Linked DNA regions of Homo sapiens: all the other regions are linked to region 1. The links are contacts of gene promoters, found by promoter capture Hi-C in blood cells and fetal thymus (Javierre and others, 2016). All regions are on one chromosome and are shown on one strand. Each heading gives the region's core, a stretch centred on a gene start or on the middle of the fragment in contact. The rest is flanking DNA. Distances are from core to core; before and after follow the strand shown.

Region 1 (2,970 bases), core at 138-2,637:
ACTCTAGAGGACTAAAGCACTTTTGTCATGAATTAGGTATCCAGTAAGTGCCATCAAAGGGTTTCAAATATGGAACTTATTGTCTGGAAGCAGAATGGTCTATATTTCTGAGTTCCTATCTGGCAGCAGTAAGAAAACTGAGAAAGAGAAACCGGGTAGCATAGCAACTCTTCATTTCTATACCGAAGCAATACAGGCTGTTAGAATTTTACTTCCAGTTCATCTGCAACAAACAGCTCCTCCACTAGAGCTACAAAGTTTTCAGCAGCTGAAAGAGGACGAAAAAAGGAGGTGAGTGGCATTATTAAAAGTTCATGATCGTTTTAATCAACATTTCTCAATGAGGAGTTGAGGGAACTAGGGATCAGTTGCTCAAACTCGTATCTTGTTTATCTGTATTGAATAAATTCATTAATCCCTGGAACCACATCTCCCTCTAGTGACCCTTCAGAGACAACTACCACTCTTTTATGTTGAAAAAAAAAAATCACTTTAAAATTCATTGTAATTTCTGTTACTGATCTGGGACACCAATGGTCATAGATTTCTAGCAACACAGGGGTTCTCCAGGGCCCTGAAACCAGACAGCTTGGATTCAAATCCGGATTTCACCAGGAAAAGCCCACAGTTCTTTATTCCTCGGTTTTCCCACTTGCAAAATGGGGATAAATAGTTTTCACTTCAAGGGGTTGTGAAGATTAAATGAGATAAGAATAAAAGGTTTAGATCCGTCCCTCACAGAGTGGGCTTTCAATAAATGCGGGATACTACGTTATTATAAAGCTAATAATACGACGCTTTACAGTTTAAGTTATTTTAGTCACAGATAGTCCCTCTCTTAAGTTTTACAACAAGCCCTGTGGGATAGTTGCTTTATCACAGCTAATTTTCATTCTCATAGAGATCTTAAGAACCCAGGCTCGGAAGTAATAGAGGAAGTGGGGCTAGGGAGTGGAATGGGATAAAGAGAGAGAGAGGGGAGGCGGGTGGGGAGGCAGGTGAGACAAAGAGCAGGTAGAGAGGGAGAAGAGGGATGGGATGGGTGGGTAATGGAAGAGGTGGAGTCAGCGAGGCTCAAATTCAGGTCTTGGAGCCCCAAATCTCCAGCTTTTCTCATAGCGCATCCCTCGGTCCCGGCCCTCCTGACTGAGCCCACCACCATGATCTTCTCTTGCCCCATTCTTTGTCTTGACCGCGATCCCACGATTCCTGCTTCCGAACCACCCTCTCCGGATCCCCAGTCCGGGTAAAGCCCAAGTCCATGGCTTTCTTTATACCTTATTCCCCGACCGCACCATGTTGCCGGTCCTCAGGCGCTTTGGTCGCTTCTTCCGGGCGGGAACCTGCCGTGTCGCAACTCGCTTCCGGTGGACAAGCGGCAGATAGCGGAAAGAGCCGCTTCGTTTCCTGCTAGGCCTGAAAGGGGCGGGGAAACCGTGCCCCGGAACTCTGAGCATGCGCAGATTCCCGCCGAGCTTGCGCAGATTCCCGCCGAGCTCGCGCAGATTCCGGCCGAGCATGCGCAGATTCTCTCCGAGCATGCGCAGATTCCCGCCGAGCATGCGCAGATTCCCGCCGAGCATGCGCACATTCTCTCCATTCCGCCGTAGTCGGGAGCGTGTGGTGTTTGAGCCGCCTGAAACGCTAGTACGACAGATTTACTTAAAGATTCACTTAATCACTTAAAGATTCACGTCCCTTTTCTCTCATTGAGAATAACACCTAAGGCATTTTGTGTCAGAGCTCTGGAGTTAGATTTCTTTTCTTTTTTTTACTTTTTTAAAAAATCTTTTTTCCTTTAATTTCATTTTTTCATTTATTTTTTATAACTTTTGATTTTTTTTTTTCTCATCACTTGTGGGTTTTTTTCTACTTTTTATTTTTGGTTATTGTGGAGTTAGATTTTCTTGAGTATGAGTATGAATGCAGAAAGTCACTTAACTTCTCTAAAAGACTCAGTTTCTTCTAAAAAGTGATAATGAAACACTTCACCGATGTGATAACCTTAGAGCCAACTGGGGAAGAAGAGTAGGACGTCCCCAGGAGCACAAAAGTAGAAGGGAGATTCTACTCTGCAGAGAAAATGGGATGCACAAACGCCTGGAGGCATGAGACTTTATCTGCTAAGGCTCTCCCAGTAGTTAGCAGTGGCTCCAGCTTGGAAGGGAGGAGTCAAGGTTTAATTTAGAAGACAAGTCTAGGGAGATATAGAAATAGCAGCTGTCATCACAGTGCTTTACTTGATCACGAGCCCTTTGTCCAGCCCGCATCCCCTACCCCTTTGAGGGAGGCAGGCCCAAGCAGTACCTTGCATAGAAATGACTGCTTTCTATACCATATGACCCCCAGCTGACAGGTGGCTGGACGAAGGGTCTGGCAACCTGCAAAGTGTCTGCAAACCTCTGCCCAAACTGAGAAAATCAAGTCCAATCAATATTCTCTCCTGCTTGAAAATTGTTTCTGGGAAAAGCAAGAATTGAAGCTGAAAAGATGTGGAGAATCTATGAGCCAAAATTATAAATACATTGAAGCCTCTAGAATGTAGAGTCAGACATATTCAGAGGTGCTCATAGAGCCCAGGAGGTTCTTCCAGCTTTTGATTCAAACTCAAGGAGTTACTTAAAAGCTGAAATATTATTTTTAATAATACTTTAAAGGAACAGCAGCGCCCTGGCCGCTCAGCTTTGCGCGGGCTGCAGCAGGCAGGCAGGCAGGCACGGACACTCGCCCTTCCCTGCGGGTAAGATTTCCAAGAGAAAGATCAGCTCGGCAGAAGGGGCGGGGAAGATCTGTGAGGTTGTCAGCTAAATCTCCTCCAGCAAAGGTGGAAACGAAGCCCAGCGGAGGCAGCAGGACAGCATAAATTTTCAGACAAAGAAGCAAACAAGGAAAAATGGGAGCAAAGGGCAAACAGGCCAAGTGGCTATCCGGGAAACAAAAGATTTATCTGTGGAAAGCGGAGAAACTGAA
Region 2 (2,970 bases), core at 146-2,645, 3.0 Mb after region 1:
AAAATAAGTTTCTTTTTAATCTCTTGCATGTAGCTGCGGAAAAATATTCCAAATAATGAGTTTTTTTTTTGTCCTGTATCTAAATTAATGCTCACCAGGCGTCTTCTCCTTTGTTACCCTCTTTTGGTAAGTTATTTCTTTACAAAGTTGAATCATATCTTTTTCATTTCTTGAATTAACACTTCATTGAGGATTCCAATAACTTCCCTGTACTTTTTGTGCTCTAAAATTTTAGGGTTTCTTCTCAATCCTTTTTAGAGTTGACTTTGAGCATCACCACTTGACCCAGTTCAAAATTCCCTTGTTTTTGCATTAATGGAACTCATTTTATCAAATGCTGAACAAATCTGCATTTTAAAAGCAATTATGGTGGGTTTTAATGACATCTTTAAAAATGTGTGCTTTCATTTTTTTCAGGAACCTCTCTGGTCCTCACCCCACTGGTTTAACTCCCGTAATTTATCATTCTCATTTGGGATAGAGTTAGCTTATCACCTGCTCTACAGCAAAACACTCTCTCTGGAAGAAATCTGATAGTATTCTATCAACGTGTGAATTTAAGTCATAATGTTACCTTTTTTAGGGACATGAGTATTTGCATAAGAGCCTTATCTCTAATTGCAAAGTGACACTCTTAAGACTGTTAAAAGAAACTATTGTTCAAGGTAGATGGAATTAGAAGACCCTCAGCATGTGGGACTTATATGCCAGCTGAATAGACCCCAGACTATCAGTGCACTCAGGGAAGTAAAGTTTGACAGTATTTATATGCTTTACTTATGAACTGGATTTGGTATCTTAGAATATTTTCTTTGAAAAGGTAGTTCCATTTTTGGCTTTCTTGCTTCTTCATAGTGCCAATCTAGGTCAACAGGAGTAAGTGAGACCATTGTTCCATATCCCGCTTAAAAAGAGAACACTACTTCAAAGACAAGAACAACATCACCTGACAAAAATAAAAGAAGTTATCGGTTTTAAAACATTGTGCTTATGTGTGCCTGTTATTCTTAACTTTTTCAGGGATTCAAGTTATTTTAGGGTACCTATTCTGGTTGATTATATATCTAGCACAATAAAGCCATTTAAATAAAAAAATATAGAATTCATTTCCAAAAATTTCTTCTTTGATTTTAGGAAAGAATTATAATTTTCCAAATTGTCCCCTCCCACCTTCTGCTAAAAAGACCCCCAAAACTTAAAAACGTACAATTAATTCCTTGAGCAAACAAAAGGGGATTTTACCCAAATTCCTTTAAAGGGTACTTAGGGCTTTTAAATCTAAAATAGATAAAACAAACTACCCAAAGAAAACAAAACCAATACTCCACAATGTACCTTTTAGCTATATTGCCTTGTAAAATTTTTCTTTTGCTGATTACACTTAGTGATTACAAAATTAAACCTGCTGCATTTCTTGATAGTCACCCTGGTTCATGAATTGTCAGGTGGTAACAGGAAATAATTCATTTTTGAAACAGAGGCATTACATAAATGTATTTTATTCCAAATTGCATTTTATATACAATGTTAGCCACTTTTCATATTTATATTTGCAAAATTAATATATAAATGTTAAAAATATATATTTATATATAATTTTATTTTTAATTTATGTAACATTTTATTTTATATACATTTTGTAAATATAACTGTTATCTACCAAGAGGTTCAGATCCTTTGTGTGGCTTGTAAGCCAGAGCTGACCTGTTAAAGATATTTGTAATATGACTTATGAGCCAAGATCTGACCAAATTCTTTATGAAATCAGCATGTATCTTGGAAATGGGACCCTTTTCGTCCTTTGAAAATAGAGTTTAATACATGAAAGCCAGCTGAGTACATCATTTCCTCCATATTCATTCATTTAATAAATGTTTATTGAGTACCAACTTGTACCAAATACTATTCTACTTCTGAGAAAACAATGTTATGAAGGAAATATTCAAGGTGCTACAATAGAAGTTGGTGCAGGAAAATGTTTGGGTAGGATGGGACAGAAAGGATGAGAAAGAACCAGCTACGTGAAAAATGGTAAGGGCTGAGGGGTCTGTTTCCTCCCCACCCTGCCACTTCTTCCCTAAAGTAAAAACTTAACTCTCCAAACTGGATACAGTGGCCAAAGAACATGGTACTCCACTTCCCTAGTGGTATATTTTAATGTACAGTATAGTTATATAAGTACCTTAAAAAAATGTGTACAGTCTATGTCTTCTGGCAAAGGACAGAAATAAATGCACCCTCTAACTATCAAAATACTACCCAGAGAGGCCAGGCGCAATTGCTCACGCCTGTAATCCCAGCACTTTGGGAGACCCAGCACTTTGGGAGATCACCTGAGGTCAGGAGTTCGAGGCCACCCTGGCCAGCATGGTGAAACCCTGTCTCTACTAAAAAATACAAAAATTAGCCAGGTGTGGTGGTGGGCGCCTGTGATCCCAGCTACTCAGAAGGCTGAGGCAGGAGAATCGCATGAACCCAGGAAGCAGAGATTGTAGTGAGCCGAGACGGCGCCACTGCACTCCAGCCTGGGTGACAGAGTGAGACTCTGTCTCAACAAAAACAAAACCAAAACGAACAAACAAACAAAACTACCCAGAGAAATTCTGAACAAAGTGAATTACAGTTTATGCAAGGGTTCTTTCCCATGAGTGGATTGCATTGTGAATCTTAGGACTATAGACTCCACAGGCATGAAATAAAACCCCCAATCTTGGTATGAAAACATAATCTTGATTTCTCTGGATGAGTTAGATACACCATAACCTGCAAATAAGAAAGGAATGTAGGATGTTAAAAAGAGGGAAACATTTGCCAAGATGGTCCAATTCTCCCAGGTGGTCATGAGATCTTTGTTATTCTAAAATCTGGGATCCATTCAGGGGGAGGCAGGGTGACAGAATGTAGTGTCTGAAGCCTTAGCCACTAGAGGGAGAAAGTGTGCCTCTGGTGACTAGGCAGCCAGTGAAAGTT
Region 3 (2,970 bases), core at 302-2,801, 2.9 Mb after region 1:
AAAAACTAGAATAATTTTGCCACTGTATTTTACAATTTCCTTTCTCACATATAAAATAATTTTATTATTCTAAGAAAACCTGCTGAGTTAATATGGGAGACATTTCCACTACAAGTACTAAAAAATCAGTCACCCTTACAGTTCATAGAAAGAAAATCAAATTCTATTTTAGTGAAGTTTTCATAACAGCCTTTTGGTAATAATGTTGAAGAATCATGATATATTTAAGAGATATTAATTCTAGTAATAGTCATTTATCTTTGATGTCAGAGAGAGACAAAGGCTTGGGAAATAGAAGATTTACGATGACATATTATAGACTTACTTGGTAGATGTTGGATTTTTTACTCTTCCTCTGAAACGACAGATAATGAAGCTTTATCAACTTCCTTTTATTAAGGCTAAAAATATATCCTATAATAGGATCATAAACATTTGATGAAAATCACAGCTGTACTGAATTTTAAAATTAGGTGAGGATGGGCAAGTAGTTCATAGAAAAGTAAATCAGCATAACTCTCATACACTATGAGTTTACAACCCAGCTTGTTTTAATTTAATATATCTCTGGCTCTGACCTCTTTCCTGTAGTCCAGATATATATTGCCAATTTCCTGAATGAATCTGGATGTCCAAAATGAGTTGATTTTCCTCCCAAGCACATCTGAGACATGTCAGTGGAGAAAGCTCAAATTTAAGAAGATAGAACAGGATGACTGATCTTCCCTTTATTCTTCCCATTGCTTTCTGGGAAGAAGATTAAAATTCTTATTGTTATATCTCTGCCTTAAGTTGTATTCCCCAGAAACAGACTCTCGGAAGATGACTCATGTGAACACGATTAATAGAAAATTTTCCCAGGAAAATCAGGGGCATGGGGTGTGTAGCAAGGAAATAGGACTAGTAAGGTAAGAAGGCTAAGGAGGGGTATATTATAAAGCAAAGTTTCATGGAGGGTAACTTTGTCTCTGTCCCATAGAGGATATCTCTAAACAGTGTGGATCACACCTCAGACTTATCCTGATCAAGCCACAATGGCTGAAATATTTAAACCCCTGAACCTATCAGTGATTGGATAAGAACTACTCCTGGAAGGATATAAGTCCCCAAATACTTCTACCACAGTGGAAAAAAGTAGATTCCGGCAGTCAGGGGCCATCCCTGCAATAAAAAGACACAGTGCTGTCAATGTGAGAATAAAAACACACGTGGAGACAGAGAGCCTGGGAATGTAAAAAATTCAAGCAAGCTATGGCAGTGCACTGACTGTCTGCTTTAATCTACATACTGGTCACAATGTAATCTTATTTTCCTAATACCTACCCCTTTATCACTTTCCATTTATTTACTCATTATTTTCTTCTCCTTTATTCCTTCTATGTGCATCCTGCAGGTGGGGTGAGGTCCTGGGACATCAATGTCTAGCAGTAGAGTGCCACCATAGGTTGGCACCAAGGTTGCAATTCCTTCCTTCCTCTCTGTTCTACTGCTTAATAAAGTCAGGAGATATACATCGTTGGCCAGCTCAGTATTTTAAAAACTTGAATATGAATGCCTTCAGATGAGGTCTTTTTTTTCTAGTTCACCAGAATCTCCTAACACTATCAGTTAGGATTTGATTCAACTGCATGTAACAAAAAACCCAAAGTAACAGTCATTCTCAATGTAGGGTTCACGGACCAGTAGTATCAGCATCATGTGGCAGTCAACAGGTACTACAGTTCTTTTAAGTCATGAAGAACCCAGTCATCTCTCAGCTTCATGGCATAAGAACGCTGCTTTAGCAGCATCCATCACCTCCCCATTCCAAGCAGCAGGTGTGGAGGAAGATGCAGGGGAGAAGATGCAAGGGACTCATGCAAGATGTTTTTTGTTTGTTTGTTTGTTTTTAAAGAGGATAACACTTTCCAATTGGTTCATTGTGCAGAACCAATAGTGTGCTGGAAACATTTGACAAATAGGCCTCCAATCTTCATTGTGTAAATATACCTGCTATGGCTGATTTCAAGCTACCAACTCAACTTCACTGAACAGTGATGGAGAGAGATGTGCACAAGTGACTCTCCCAGCCAAGCCAGCTCCAGCAAATCACTGTCCATGACTAACATATAGCCATCCCTAAATACATGGCAAGTTTCAAAAAGAAGGCATTATTCCAAGGAGTTATGTGCTCAGAGTAAAATTTGAGTATACATTGTTAAAGTTGAAAGGAGGAATGGCTATTGTGCAGACATTGGCTCTTTCTGCTGCAAGATTGCTGTCCTATAGCCAACTTACATTTGTTTGTATCCATCCTTCTTGGACTCTGTAGAAATATATCTTTGTCTGAGATAGCGCCAAAATTCTAGTCAAATGGCTTTCAAAGACAAATACAGTTGAACCTCAAACAACATGGGTTTGAACCGTGCAGGTCCACTTATACACACATTTTTTTTCCAACCAAATTAGGATTGAAAATACAGTATATGCAGAATGCAAATCCCACACATAACCAAGCACTGCCTTTTCATATACTTGGGTTTAGCCTGCTGATTGCAGGACTTGAATATGCAGATTTTGGTATATGCAGGGGGTCCTAGAACCAATCCCTGTGTGTTCTGAGTAACGACTGTAACTGCTCACAGAAATTGCTAGGCAATATATTATAGATGCCAAAATAGCTCAAAATACATTGCATGTGATCACACATGAAAAGCAGCAAATATCTGTAGATAGATGAAGCTTATTCACTAACTAAAAGGTCATATTTTTGCAGTAGGAAAAAATAGAATATTAAATTGCCCATTTTGTGATGCTGTGATGATTCATGTGGTGTGCTAAGAAGCACCAGCTCTGTTGACTGGCAGACCTGGTTCAAACCACAACTCTTCCACTTAGACTGTACAATGTATTCATATTCTTGAAACTTGTGTCCTCATATGTAAGTAAATAACTACTTAAGCAGAGGAAGAAACATAGTATTGGGTACAT
Region 4 (2,970 bases), core at 139-2,638, 2.9 Mb after region 1:
GAATTGGAAAACAATTGTAATTAAAATGTTTTATATACACTCACAAAATTGTATATATATCATGAACATAGAGCTTGATTAATTAACACACAAACTGAACACACTCGTGTAACCAGATCAAGAAAAAGAACATTGTCAGGTTTGTAGAGTATTTAAAACAAGCTCAGTGCTTTGTATTCACACATTTATTTAAAATAATGTTGTAAAAGAACAGCATCATCCAGCCACAAAACTTAGGAAGAAATGTAATTTCAACTTAGAGAGCAGGCTCATAGTTCATTTTAATCAATTAAAAATTAAAATGTTTTAATATGATAAAACACATAATGGGGTGCTTTTAACTAAACATGCTTTATAAATACCTTGATAATTTTATAAGAAGAAAATTGAGAGAAGTAAAACAGATTTTGATAAGATTTCTAATATTTATTCATCATTTTAAAATGTGAAATTTGAACATTAAATAAAAATTTCCTAGTAATTTTGATAACTTTAAATGTATATTTCTATTCATGTTGATGTTAAAAAAAAAAAAAAAAGGTTCCCCAAACTTTACTCTCAAATCTGAATGTGCATTCTACCAGCCTGGAGGCTATTGTCAAAATGCAGATCTTGGTTTGATCTTTCTAGGTTGGGGCCCAGGAGTCTGCGTTTCTGACAAGTTCCCATCTGGTGCTGATGTTGCTAGTTCTTGTGCCACACTTTCAGTAGCAAGGGTGTAGACTTCAACTTGGATATATTTAATAGATATCATCACGTAATATTTTGTCGTCTTTCTAGCTCTTTCCCAGTCTCTGGACGTGCCATTTATTTTTGACCTTTTCTTTTCTTCCCTGTTTTTGGTTTGTAAAAAAAAGCAAAAAAACTCCTATTACTGTGAATTGTCTGACTTCATATTCTCAGTGGCGGAAATTCCCTCAAAAACCTCTCCCTTCCCCTTGCCTTGGCACATTCTCCTCCCACTCCCCACACCTGCAGCTTCCTGTAAGCACTTTGATTTTCAGAGGTTAGTTTCTACCTCCGTCTAAGGTTCACCTTAATTCTTCAGTGTGGTTCTGTGTAGTAAAATGAAACTGTAATATCAATGTCCTGGACCCATGAAGGCCAGAAAGCTCAATGATTCAACAGTTTAAAAAATCAATTCTGCTTAAAAACAAACAAAACCCAGAGATATCTAAGGCAGCTGGGCTGTAATACTACAGTTCATCAGCTGGTACCACTATCTGATAAATTTTGTACAATCCTGAAATATTACTGGTTTTTATGTTTTGATTAATGCAAAAAATTAGTTCCTTTATATCAATTCTGCAAGACTGAAGTGCAATAATTTCAAGAATGAAAACAACAGTTGGCGATTTCCAGTATGAAAAAAGGGTCTATGATGCTAACTTTAAAGGTTATAAGACAAAAACAGAACATAAAATTATAAATTTAATTATGACTGGATAAAGCATAAATAACTTTAGATAATGGTTGATTTTCAAATAATATAAGAATTTATCCCATATAGACTTTTAATTCAAAGACTTCGTAAATAAAGGCAATAAAAGATCAATAAAGTTTAAACCAAGACACAAAATCTCCAGAATTCTTTAATATCAACTTTGTATAATGAAAGAAAGAAAAAGAAAAACCTATCAGTAAGATGAATATATGAAATTATGTCTTATTCAGCAATTTGCTGGTAATGGAATTTTCTGACCTGAAAATCACATAATTATTAACCATCTATAATGAATCCATCTATATTCAACTCATTGAGATGTATAAATAATAATCAGAAAAATCAGTCAATTCTGAGCCTTTGCAAGACAAATGTATATATATTTTACAAGATAGGTCTATGAATTACTTCAATTTATCTGTTCCATAATCTGATCTAAATTTTTAATTCTCTTTGCAGTTATGAAACAGTAGTGACAAATGAACATATCAAAAACAATTAAATATATCTATCTGCATTTCTGATTCATTCAGATCATGTTCTAATGAGCCCTGGTGTGAGAATTGAAAACTTGGAATCTAATTTTGTCCCCAGCACTAATTAGCTTGTGATCTTGAACAGGTCAACTAAATTCTCTGACTTCTAGTATCTGATATTGGAACAGATCTTTGGTGCTAGACAGGAAGATTGTAAGAATCCCAGGAGTAAGCTCAGAATCAAGTCTCATTCTGACCTTAAACCCAGCTTCTAAAACTTAGCTTCTTGACACTTAAGACCAGATATTTTGTCCCCACTCCTGGTCGAGGATTCTGGTCTCTGCCTTTCTGCCCATACTTCTGCTTTGGTTCTCATCCAGGATTGTAGTTGCTCTAGGACTAAGATGCAGACTTATTCTTCTAACACTTGCTTAATACTTCAGATTTTCTTCTAAGCCCCAATGTCCATAGCTACCTTCTTCCCTTTGACTCTTACACTGCATAGATTTCTGGCTAATGTTTCTTGCCAAAACCCTCTTGATTCTGAGATTTGCCTATCTACCTGGTCTCCACTTGCTGCTGAATCTCTCCTCATCATACAGCCAGTGTTTTGTAGGGTCTCCACGTCCCGCCCTAGCCTTCGCGAACCATGCAGTTGTTGAAATAACATTGACTTCAAATATCAGGGTCTACGCATGGGATGATGGTCTGCGGGTATAAAACTGAAAATGTTGTTGCAACAAGGCAAACAGGTCAGATGGGGGGAAAAGTGATGAAGTGTTGCATCACTTCAATAGTATATTTTCTTGACCAAATATAGTTGTCATGAAAATTAGCAGATTCAGAGAAAAAATATAGCTTAGACAACTGCTTGCTAATATCAGTTCTAAAAGCATGGTAAAAGTTTATTTCCCATAGGTCATTCAATGACATGTGCTTCTAAGTTAAGTGCCAGTATCTGTAACCAATATCTGTTCTAGGAGCTCTCATTTAAACAAGTGAAAATACATCAAAAGAACTGAAACAAATCAGCAGTCACCATTCAGGATT
Region 5 (2,970 bases), core at 197-2,696, 2.6 Mb before region 1:
GCTATTCAGGAGTCCCCAGCTATCAATCATCTCATTAGCATATAAAAAGACACTTATCACTTACAAGTTCTGAAGGTTTTAGGAGCCAGGAACCAGGGGCACACCCCAATTATGTATTTCTTTCTTTTTTTTTTTTTTTTTGAGACCGGAGTCTCACTGTGTTGCCCAGGCTGGAGTGCAATGGTACGATCTCGGCTCGCTGCAACCTCTGCCTCCCGCGTTCATGCAATTCTCCCGCCTCAGCCTCCCGAATAGCCGGGATTACAGGCACCCGCCATCGTGCCCGGATAATTTTTGTATTTTTGTAGAGACAGGGTTTCACCATGCTGACCAGGCTGGAGTATTTCTTATTATATCACAATATCACATCAGCAAAGCCACGAGTTGGACCTATTCATATGAAAAAGGCGTTCCCCTCTTACCACCATCTCCTTGTTGCTATTTTTTACTCAGTGCGTGCACTCTGCCACAGCTGTACCCAACCCCTTCAATAGTGTCTTTCCTCCTCCTGAGGCCAATCCAAAATCCTCCAGTTCTTTCATCCTCCCCCACATCAAATCAATCTCTCTCACAATGTCAACTATTATCTGCAGAAGAGTCATTTTGCAGATTTGTCGTCTCAAGTTTCATGTCTGCATCACCAACTGCCTGTTCCACCTTTCCAAATGCATGTCCAACCACTTCAATCTAGTGTGTCAAACTAGCTCTCCACTCCTGATCGTCCCATTTCCTTGAGTGGACCCTTCTTTCTCCAAATCACCTAAGAGGAAAACTAAGTTATTTCTGACTTTTTCCTTTACTTTATTTCCCCAAAGGGAAACCAGTCATGAAATTTAAGACACTCTGTCTACTTAGCATTCTTCCTCCTTTTATTATTTCCACCATGCCCCTAGATCTGGACTTACTGCAACAGCACTGACTGAAGCATGTGTCTCCAAGGTGTGCCCTTCCTAATTCCACCCTGCAGGCAACCTCCAGATTAATTTTGCTGTATTGCTTCATCAGGTCAATCCCTTTTCAAAAACGGTCCATGAGCACTTACTAAACACTGTGGTGGCCCACCTGCATCAGAATAACCTGAGATGCAAAGTCCTGAGATTCACCTTCAAGAGGATTCAGTTGGTGTGGAGTAGGGCCATGAGTCTGCAGTTTTAACAAGCATTCCAGATGACTGTCATGTGAGATTTCTTAGCTTTGGTCCACAAGACTCCATAGTCGACCCTTAATCTTTTTTTTTTTTTTTTTAAGGCTTATTTCCATTTCCTCCTACCTTGAACTCTGTTATGTGAACTGCGCTGGTCTTACACTAAATTCCTGGAATAAACCTTTCAAATGCCTGTCTGCAGGGCTTTACTCCACTAAGCTTCTTCCTTGTGAATCCTTACCATATTTTATTTACCTTTTCCAGACCCAGCTCAAGACCCACCCTCTCCACGAGCACCTGTTGTGTGTCCCTCTCACGTGATACTTTCCCAAGGCTATCTCACACCACTGTTCACTTACCCTAGTGATATGCCCTATAAGCTTCATGATGGCTTTTATAGGAAATCTCTGGGGATCTTTAACCTCAAATACAGAGCCACGCTGGCAGAAGGGGGTGGGAAGAACCCTGGTCCAGTTTGGCCTCCTATTAGCAATATTGCCCAAGTCTCCTCCCCCAACAACTTTATGGAACACTAAGTCTTCCTAGAACAAAAGTTTTTAAAAAATTGACTTAGAAACGATGGATATGTTCAATGTGAATTATACCTCCACAAAACTGTTAAAAATAAAAATAAAACTTGAATAAAGGGGTAAGAGTGAAGAATAAAAAACTGCAGAAAGTTGTATGGATCAACAAAATGGCCTGAAACATCCCCTTCTATTTGCATGGCTGCCTCAGCCCAGTCTCCAACCCCTCTAACACCAAGTGCAGGACTGTTAAGGTAAGCAGCCTGACTGATGTCCCTGGCTCCAGACTCTCCCCTTTAAAACACCCATTCTCAGGAATCTGAACATCCTACTTTGTCATCTTCATGCAGCATTTGGAAACTGCCTATACAGTTCTGTCCTCCAATCTTTATGGGGTGATTTTGCCTCAAGTTTCCTCCTTAAAGGAGTGTGAATGATTAGTAGCCTATGTTAGAAAATCTATTGCTGGCCGGGCGCAGTGGTTCATGCCTGAAATCCCAGTACTTTGGGAGGCCGAGGTGGGCAGATCACCTGAGGTCGAGAGTTCGAAACCAGCCTGAGCAACATGGAGAAACCCCATTTCTACTAAAAATACAAAACTAGCCAGGCATGGTGGTGCATGCCTGTAATCCCAGCTACTTGGGAGGTGGAGGCAGGAGAATCGCTTGAACCTGGGAGGCAGAGGTTGCGGTGAGCCGAGATTGCGCCATTGCACTCCAGCCTGGGCAACAAGAGTGAAACTGCGTCTCAAAAGAAAAAAAAAAAAGAAAAGAAAATCTATTGCTGCTGTCGCAAACCAACAAGTCTCCAGGGACCAGGCCCAGACCAACTTGGACAAGGTATCTATTTCTAGAGAAAGCAATTATTCATTACCCACTAATTAAATCACTCTCCTACAAGAGAGTGTGGCTCTTGGGAAATGCAGTTTCCCTTTCCTCCTTCAACTAGGTGTTTCCCTCGGTCACCAGGGAAACTCAGGACATCAGAAATGGTTCAGTCTACAGTCCACAAGATCTCTGATGAGATTACCTCAACTGCTCAACAGTTATGTTAGAAGATAGAACTGACAGGCTCACGCCTGTAATCCCAACACTTTGGGAGGCTGAGGCAGGTGGATCACGAGGTCAGGAGATCAAAACCATCCTGGTTAACACGGTGAAACCCCATCTCTACTAAAAATACAAAAGGCGTGGTGGCAGACGCCTGCAGTCCCAGCTACTTGGGAGGCTGAGGCAGGAGAATGGCCTGAACCCGGGAGGCGGAGCTTGCAGTGAGCCGAGACTGTGCCACTGCACTCCA
Region 6 (2,970 bases), core at 296-2,795, 2.6 Mb before region 1:
GGCTCAGGTGATCCTTCTGCCTCAGCCTTCCGAGTAGCTGAGACTACAGGTGTGTGCCACCATGCCTGGCTAATTTTTGTATTTTTTGTAGAGACGGAGTTTTGCCATGTTGGCCAGACTGGTCTTGAACCCCTGGGTTCAAGTGATCCTCCCACCTCAGCCTCCCAAGGTGCTGGAATTACAGGCGTGAGCCACCACACCCGGCCTCCTTTTCATTAATAACTGAGGTGCAGGCACCTGGGAAGACTAGATGAGTCCCAAAGAAGTAAAGTGATTTGCCAAAAGATAGAAAATTATGAATAGAAATCCATATCTGTCTGACTCCACACCTTAGATTCTTTGTACTAGGACATTCTTCAGTCCCCACTCCCCCAATTTTTTTTTTTTTTTTTTTTTTTTTTGAGACGGAGTCTTGCTCTGTCGCCCAGGCTGGAGTGCAGTGGCGCAATCTCGGTTCACTGCAAGCTCCGCCTCCCGGGTTCATGCCATTCTCCTGCCTCAGCCTCCCGAGTAGCTGGGACTACAGGCGCCCGCCACCACACCCAGCTAATTTTTTGTGATTTTTAGTAGAGACGGGGTTTCACCCTGTTAGCCAGGATGGTCTCTATCTCCTGACTTCATGATCCACCCGCCTCAGCCTCCCAAAGTGCTGGGATTACAGGCCTGAGCCACCGCGCCCGGCCCCCCTCCCCCATTTTGTTGTCACCACCTTACCACCATCCCATCCAGGACCCATATAACTAGGGTGGGCGAAGTATTGAAGGGCCACTTGACTGAGGCTACACCTCAATGTTACATTGGTTCAGGGAGCCCAGCTAGTACTGGCCGTTATTAAGAGTATCTAGACTACTGGTTTTCAAAGTGTTCAGGGAAACTTCTTTTTTTTTTTTTTTTTTAAGAGACAGAGTCTTACTTTGTCACCCAGGCTGGAGTACAGTGGCAAGATCATGGCTCACTACAGCCTCGACCTCCTGGGCTCCCGTGATTCTTCTGCCTCAGTCTCCCAAGTAGCTGGGACCACCGTGTCCAGTTAATTTTTTATTTTTTGTAGAGATAGTGTCTCGCTTTGTTGCCCAGGCTGGTCTCGAACTCCTGGCCTCAAGTGATCCTCCCACCTCAGCCTCCCAAAGCGCTGGGATAACTTACAGTTTACCTGTTCAGGGGAACTTTTAAGATTCAGGGGAGACACCTTGAGCCATGGAGACAGCAACAATGAGTGCAGCAGCCTGTAGTACTGTGAGACTCCCACTCCCATGTCAGCCAGAACTACACTGTTATCTGTGAGGTGTGAAGCTTTATATTTTATATTTTGAAGTTTCTGCCTAAGACTTAACAACACTGACATAGGTCGTGCTGGGGCAGCCTTACTCTTAGAATGAAGAGGGAGCAGTGTGAGAAAGCAAAGTGTGCATTTTTCCATGTATCACTTGGTAGAGCTGTAGACACAAACTGATCACTCAGCTTCAATTTCATTACAACTGCTGTTTCTATGCTTAAGTATGTGTGTCCCTTGATTTACATCAGAACCATGGATCCTAACCTCAACAGGCTGATCTAGATCAACCAGACAGCCAGGTCATAAATACATCCAGAGTACTCTATTACCTCCTTCCTTCCCTCTTTCCTTCTAAGGGAGAAGGTTATATACAGACAGGAAAAAAAGAGGACGTAGACTAGCTACGATAGCCCAGATACTATTAGGTACTTTATGTAAACAAATCACCTTTTATCCTCACAATAACCCTAGAGAGTAGGTGTTATTATCTATATGTGACAGACAGGATAACTTAAGCTTACAGAGAGGTCACGTCCCAGATTGCATAGCTTGTAAGTGATTGGTACCTGTTAACTAACTCCGAGGCTGCTGGCTCTTCCATTACAACACAGCCTTTATACCACCCTAAATATGTTGTGTTGAGGTTGCTATCTCCTTTAAGAAGGCTTAGGGTGACTGGTGTTAAAACTGTATGTAGACAGTAGCCAAGGCACTGGGATCCACACTGGACAGTGACGTAGGGAAAGGTTGGAGTAATATTGGTAACGTTAATGCTAATGAATGAGTGCCATATCTCTAGACCAGAGATTCAGCCACTAAGGGGAATGAAACTTAAACAGGGAGTCAGGAAACCTGGCTCTGGGCCTAGTTCTACCTATGTTAAGCCTTGGTTAGTCATTTTACTTCTCTAGAATCCACTTCTTCATCTGTTGGCAGAAATGATGCCTAAAATTCTGATTTCCATGCCTTCTATTTGGCCAGTTGACAACTTAAGGTAACATATTCCTTGTTTTTAAGGAGTTTAGCAGGAGAATGCATTCTGGTAGATTGCCATTTTTCTACAAAGCCTGCCTTTATTGGCCTTAGCAGGCTTCCACAGGGAGAGCTGTAATGGTAAGTTAGTCTACTCCTGTCTCTCTAGGGTCCTTCCCTCTGAAGTTGAAGTATTGGAGTCCATCTATCTAGATGAACTACAGGTGATTAAAGGAAATGGCAGGTATGTATTCAACCAGTGGTGGGCAGGAGTCCCCCTAGTAATGAGGAGAGGTTCTATGCTGAATTTGGGTCTTAAGACATTGTGAGCCTTGATTCAGAGATAATATTTCTCTTGTGTAGACAAAAGCTATTCCTTTAATCCTACCCCAAAAGAAAGAGTCCAATGTGTACTTCCTTTGCCCACTTCACTGTCTCAGCCCCATCCTCCCCAGCCCCCAAGCCCCTACCCAGTCACATCTGCGTGTCCACTTGATCCACCTGCAGAACTTCACCATGGGAGATCTACATCACTTTGCATCCTGCCACTGCAGAGGACCAGGATTCACAGTATGTCTGCTTCACTCTGGTGCTTCAGGTCCCAGCAGAGGTGAAGCCCCTACTGTGTGGCAGCAAAGGGAGGAAGGGGAGAGTCCCTGGGGTGGACCGCTTCAGCAGTAACTTGTTATTTGCCCCCACTAGTATCCCCATGAGGTGCCACA
Region 7 (2,970 bases), core at 191-2,690, 2.5 Mb before region 1:
CTTGGCTTTGTTCTTCCAATCCTTCTCCCATTCATGAATCACTATTTTAAATCTGTATTCACATGACTGACATGTGGTCATAAGAGGGCCAGTTTCAAATCAGGGAGCCATAGAAGGTCAGAGCTGGACTTCATTTTATAGAAAAGGAGCCCGAGGACTAGAAAGGTTAGGTGAAGTAAAAAGAATTAGTGCCAGAGTCATTTAATGAGTGACAGAACTGGAATTAGAACCAAGGTCTCTGGCCGGGCACGGTAGCTCACATCTGTAATCCCAGCACTTTGGGGGGCTGAGATGGGCAGATCATGTAAGGCCAGGAGTTCGAGACCAGCCTGACCGACATGGTGAAACCCCTTCTCTACTAAAAATACAAAAATTAGCTGGGAGTAGTGGTGCACACCTATAATCTCCGCTACTTGGGAGGCTGAGGCAGGAGAATTGCTTGAACCCAGGAGGCGGAGGCTGCAGTGAGCCGAGATGGCGCCATTGCACTGCAGCCTGGGCAACAAAAGCAAAACTCTGTCTTGGGCAGGAGGAAAAAAAAAAGAACCCAGGTCTCCATACAACCAGCTCAAGGATCTCACAATGACTCTGCTCTTGGAAAGGGCCTTCTCTAGAAAACAGTTGAAGCAAGGCTAGGAATCAATAAGGGACATTGGTATTTTGTCTCTCCTCTCCATCACTTTCTGTTCCCTCTGTACTCTGAATAGTCTTGCTTTTCTTTGGTCTCATTTTCTTTATTTCTATTTATTTATTTTTTTTTGAGACGGAGTGTCACTCTGTCGCCCAGGCTGGAGTGCAGTGGCATGATGTTGGCTCACTGCAACCTCCGCCTCCTGGGTTCAAGTGATTCTCCTGCCTCAGCCTCCCAAGTAGCTGGGATTACAGGTGTGTGCCACCACGCCTGGCTAATTTTTTTTATTTTTAGTAGAGACGGGGTTTCACTATGTTGGCCAGGCTGGTCTCAAACTCCTGACCTCAGATGATCCACCCGCCTCAGCCTCCCTAAGTGCTGGGGTTACAGGGGTGAGCCACCATGCCCAGCCTCTTTCATCTCATTTTCTTTCCTTTCCCTATCCCATGCCTGACCTGGTCCTTTTCCTTTCTTCCCAGTTCACTATAAAAAAAATTTTTTTTAAATTATTATTTGTTTTGTATGGAGATGGGGTCTCCCTGTGTAGCCCTAGTTTTAAACTCCTGGCCTCAAGCAATCCTCCTGCCTGGGCTTCCCAAAGTGCTGGGATTACAGGCGTGAGCCATCATGCCCAGCCCCATCCCCACCTCTCTCTCTCTCTTAATCCTCTGTCTTCCTGTTTGCTCACCTAGGTCAGTCTCTCCTCTTCTCTTCCTTCTCCTCATCCCTTCTCCCCATCACCTCTTCCAGTTGGTTCCCTCTTTTGACTCCACTAATTCGCAATGGCTCTGAGTCTCATCTCCTTTGAGAATTTTGAGACTGTGGTCCAGAAGGGAGGACACTTGGGTTCAGAACTCAGTAGCATGCGTGTCCCTCTGCTCAGCCTCACTTTTCTCTGTATCCTAGGAGATTGACCAAACAAACTGCCCAGACAATGTGAGTTAGAACCTAGGTATTCTAGGTCTTGCTGTTTCCTCTGGTGTCTAATGGTAGAATGGGAAGGATGCCCACAGCTGATGCAGGTGCAATGAGAAGAGAAGGAACAAAGGGTTTGGGAGTGAGGGCACTGGGAAAAACACAGAGGATGACATCTGATAATAAGAAAGGTTGGTCTTAAATATTAACTCATAGACACATATATGGAGATCTTCAATGATATGGTAATTACCTCTCTAATACAGATACGAAAATAGGGACACAAAATGAGATGGGAAGTAGCCCAGAGCTGCAGAGCGCAATTTGGTCCTCAATTTCTAAGAGACTTCATGTCACCTAGAGATGGACTTTGGCAGAGTTACCAATGGCACCAAGGAGATTACAGTGGGATTCAGGGTGTCTCAGGTCTCTCTGAGGGGCAAGAAAGAAGAGAATCATTTTGTCTACTCCCTTGCTTCTGAGAAGGATTATGCCTAACCTGGTTCATATAGAGGACAAATTGGCTCTGGTCACAGGTCACAGAATGTTGGAGCTTGAAGGTTCTTTTTTTTTTTTTTTTTGAGACAGAGTCTCGCTGTCGCCCAGGCTGGAGTGCAGTGGTGCGATCTTGGCTCACTGCAGGCTCCGCCCCCCGGGGTTCACGCTATTCTCCTGCCTCAGCCTCCCGAGTAGCTGGGACTACAGGCACCCGCCACCCACCTCGCCCGGCTAATTTTTTGTATTTTCAGTAGAGACGGGGTTTCACCATGTTAGCCAGGATGGTCTCAATCTCCTGACCTCGTGATCCACCCGCCTCGGCCTCCCAAAGTGCTGGGATTACAGGTGTGAGCCACCGCGCCCGGCCAGTTCTTTTATAACACATCTAATCCAGACATTCCCAGCTACATCAATAGCCTCTGGAATGTCTTGAAATTGAGATCCTTAGCCCTACCCAAAAATCTACCAGATCAGAGTTACCCAGGGTGGGGCTCAATAATATATTTATTTTTAACAAGTACACTTGGTACACAGGCAAGTCTGGGAAACCCTAAACTCTCTCGTATCACAGATCTGGAAGTTGTGGCTCCAGGTCCCGTAGCTAGTTAATGGCACAGGCAGAACTAGAAGTAGGTTTTCTTACCAACGTAGCACTCTGGTGCACTAAGAAACTGCTCTGGCCCATGGAATAGGCAAAGAACAAGTTCTTTAGAGAACTTTCTAAGGGACTTTCATAACTCTCTCTATTACCAGGGATCTCTGATTCCCCATGGTTCTTGGCCAACCCCTATTTTGCAACCCTCAACAAACTGTTAATGAATCTATGCTAAAGCTTAGCTACTCCAATTTTTTCTTCCCTTATTGGGGGTGGAGTTCACCTCAGGAGTGGCTAGGGTTGGCACTTCTGGCCCTGCATAAGCTAAGAG

Evidence for each region. The method cuts DNA at HindIII sites, captures the fragments that hold promoters and counts their contacts. A CHiCAGO score of 5 or more calls a contact.
Region 2: a contact is called between a fragment that was not itself captured here and the fragment with the promoter of XRCC5 in region 1, in 1 of 17 cell types (fetal thymus). The highest score is 6.7, in fetal thymus.
Region 3: a fragment that was not itself captured here is called in contact with the fragment with the promoter of XRCC5 in region 1 in 1 of 17 cell types (total B cells); the score reaches 7.8 in total B cells.
Region 4: a fragment that was not itself captured here is called in contact with the fragment with the promoter of XRCC5 in region 1 in 1 of 17 cell types (naive CD8 T cells); the score reaches 7.2 in naive CD8 T cells.
Region 5: a fragment that was not itself captured here is called in contact with the fragment with the promoter of XRCC5 in region 1 in 1 of 17 cell types (neutrophils); the score reaches 5.2 in neutrophils.
Region 6: a contact is called between a fragment that was not itself captured here and the fragment with the promoter of XRCC5 in region 1, in 1 of 17 cell types (neutrophils). The highest score is 5.6, in neutrophils.
Region 7: a fragment that was not itself captured here is called in contact with the fragment with the promoter of XRCC5 in region 1 in 1 of 17 cell types (neutrophils); the score reaches 5.2 in neutrophils.

Annotation. Positions count from the first base shown.
Region 1 is chr2:216,107,765-216,110,734 of GRCh38, reverse strand. XRCC5 (X-ray repair cross complementing 5) reads right to left here and starts at 1,387. Exons shown (of 21, transcript NM_021141.4): 1 at 1,278-1,387. The coding sequence starts at 1,298. RefSeq lists an enhancer at 1,042-1,663. The HindIII fragment of the contact is 16,954 bases long and covers 1-2,970 here.
Region 2 is chr2:213,153,816-213,156,785 of GRCh38, reverse strand. It overlaps LINC01953 (long intergenic non-protein coding RNA 1953), which reads left to right. Exons shown (of 4, transcript NR_146974.1): 4 at 856-970. Among named protein-coding and RNA genes, the nearest start is that of IKZF2, 3.7 kb to the right of the region's middle. The HindIII fragment of the contact is 3,234 bases long and covers 1-2,970 here.
Region 3 is chr2:213,219,889-213,222,858 of GRCh38, reverse strand. No RefSeq gene overlaps it. Among named protein-coding and RNA genes, the nearest start is that of LINC01953, 54 kb to the right of the region's middle. The HindIII fragment of the contact is 2,345 bases long and covers 379-2,723 here.
Region 4 is chr2:213,241,553-213,244,522 of GRCh38, reverse strand. No RefSeq gene overlaps it. Among named protein-coding and RNA genes, the nearest start is that of SPAG16-DT, 41 kb to the left of the region's middle. The HindIII fragment of the contact is 4,627 bases long and covers 1-2,970 here.
Region 5 is chr2:218,717,846-218,720,815 of GRCh38, reverse strand. The region is part of intron 1 of TTLL4 (tubulin tyrosine ligase like 4); the gene reads right to left. Among named protein-coding and RNA genes, the nearest start is that of TTLL4, 8.5 kb to the right of the region's middle. RefSeq lists a silencer at 953-1,250. The HindIII fragment of the contact is 161 bases long and covers 1,366-1,526 here.
Region 6 is chr2:218,668,127-218,671,096 of GRCh38, reverse strand. It overlaps RNF25 (ring finger protein 25), which reads left to right. Exons shown (of 10, transcript NM_022453.3): 2 at 2,418-2,492; 3 at 2,756-2,858; 4 at 2,951-2,970. Among named protein-coding and RNA genes, the nearest start is that of RNF25, 2.4 kb to the left of the region's middle. The HindIII fragment of the contact is 499 bases long and covers 1,296-1,794 here.
Region 7 is chr2:218,608,298-218,611,267 of GRCh38, reverse strand. All of the region lies in intron 1 of PLCD4 (phospholipase C delta 4), which reads right to left. Among named protein-coding and RNA genes, the nearest start is that of PLCD4, 1.9 kb to the right of the region's middle. The HindIII fragment of the contact is 2,876 bases long and covers 3-2,878 here.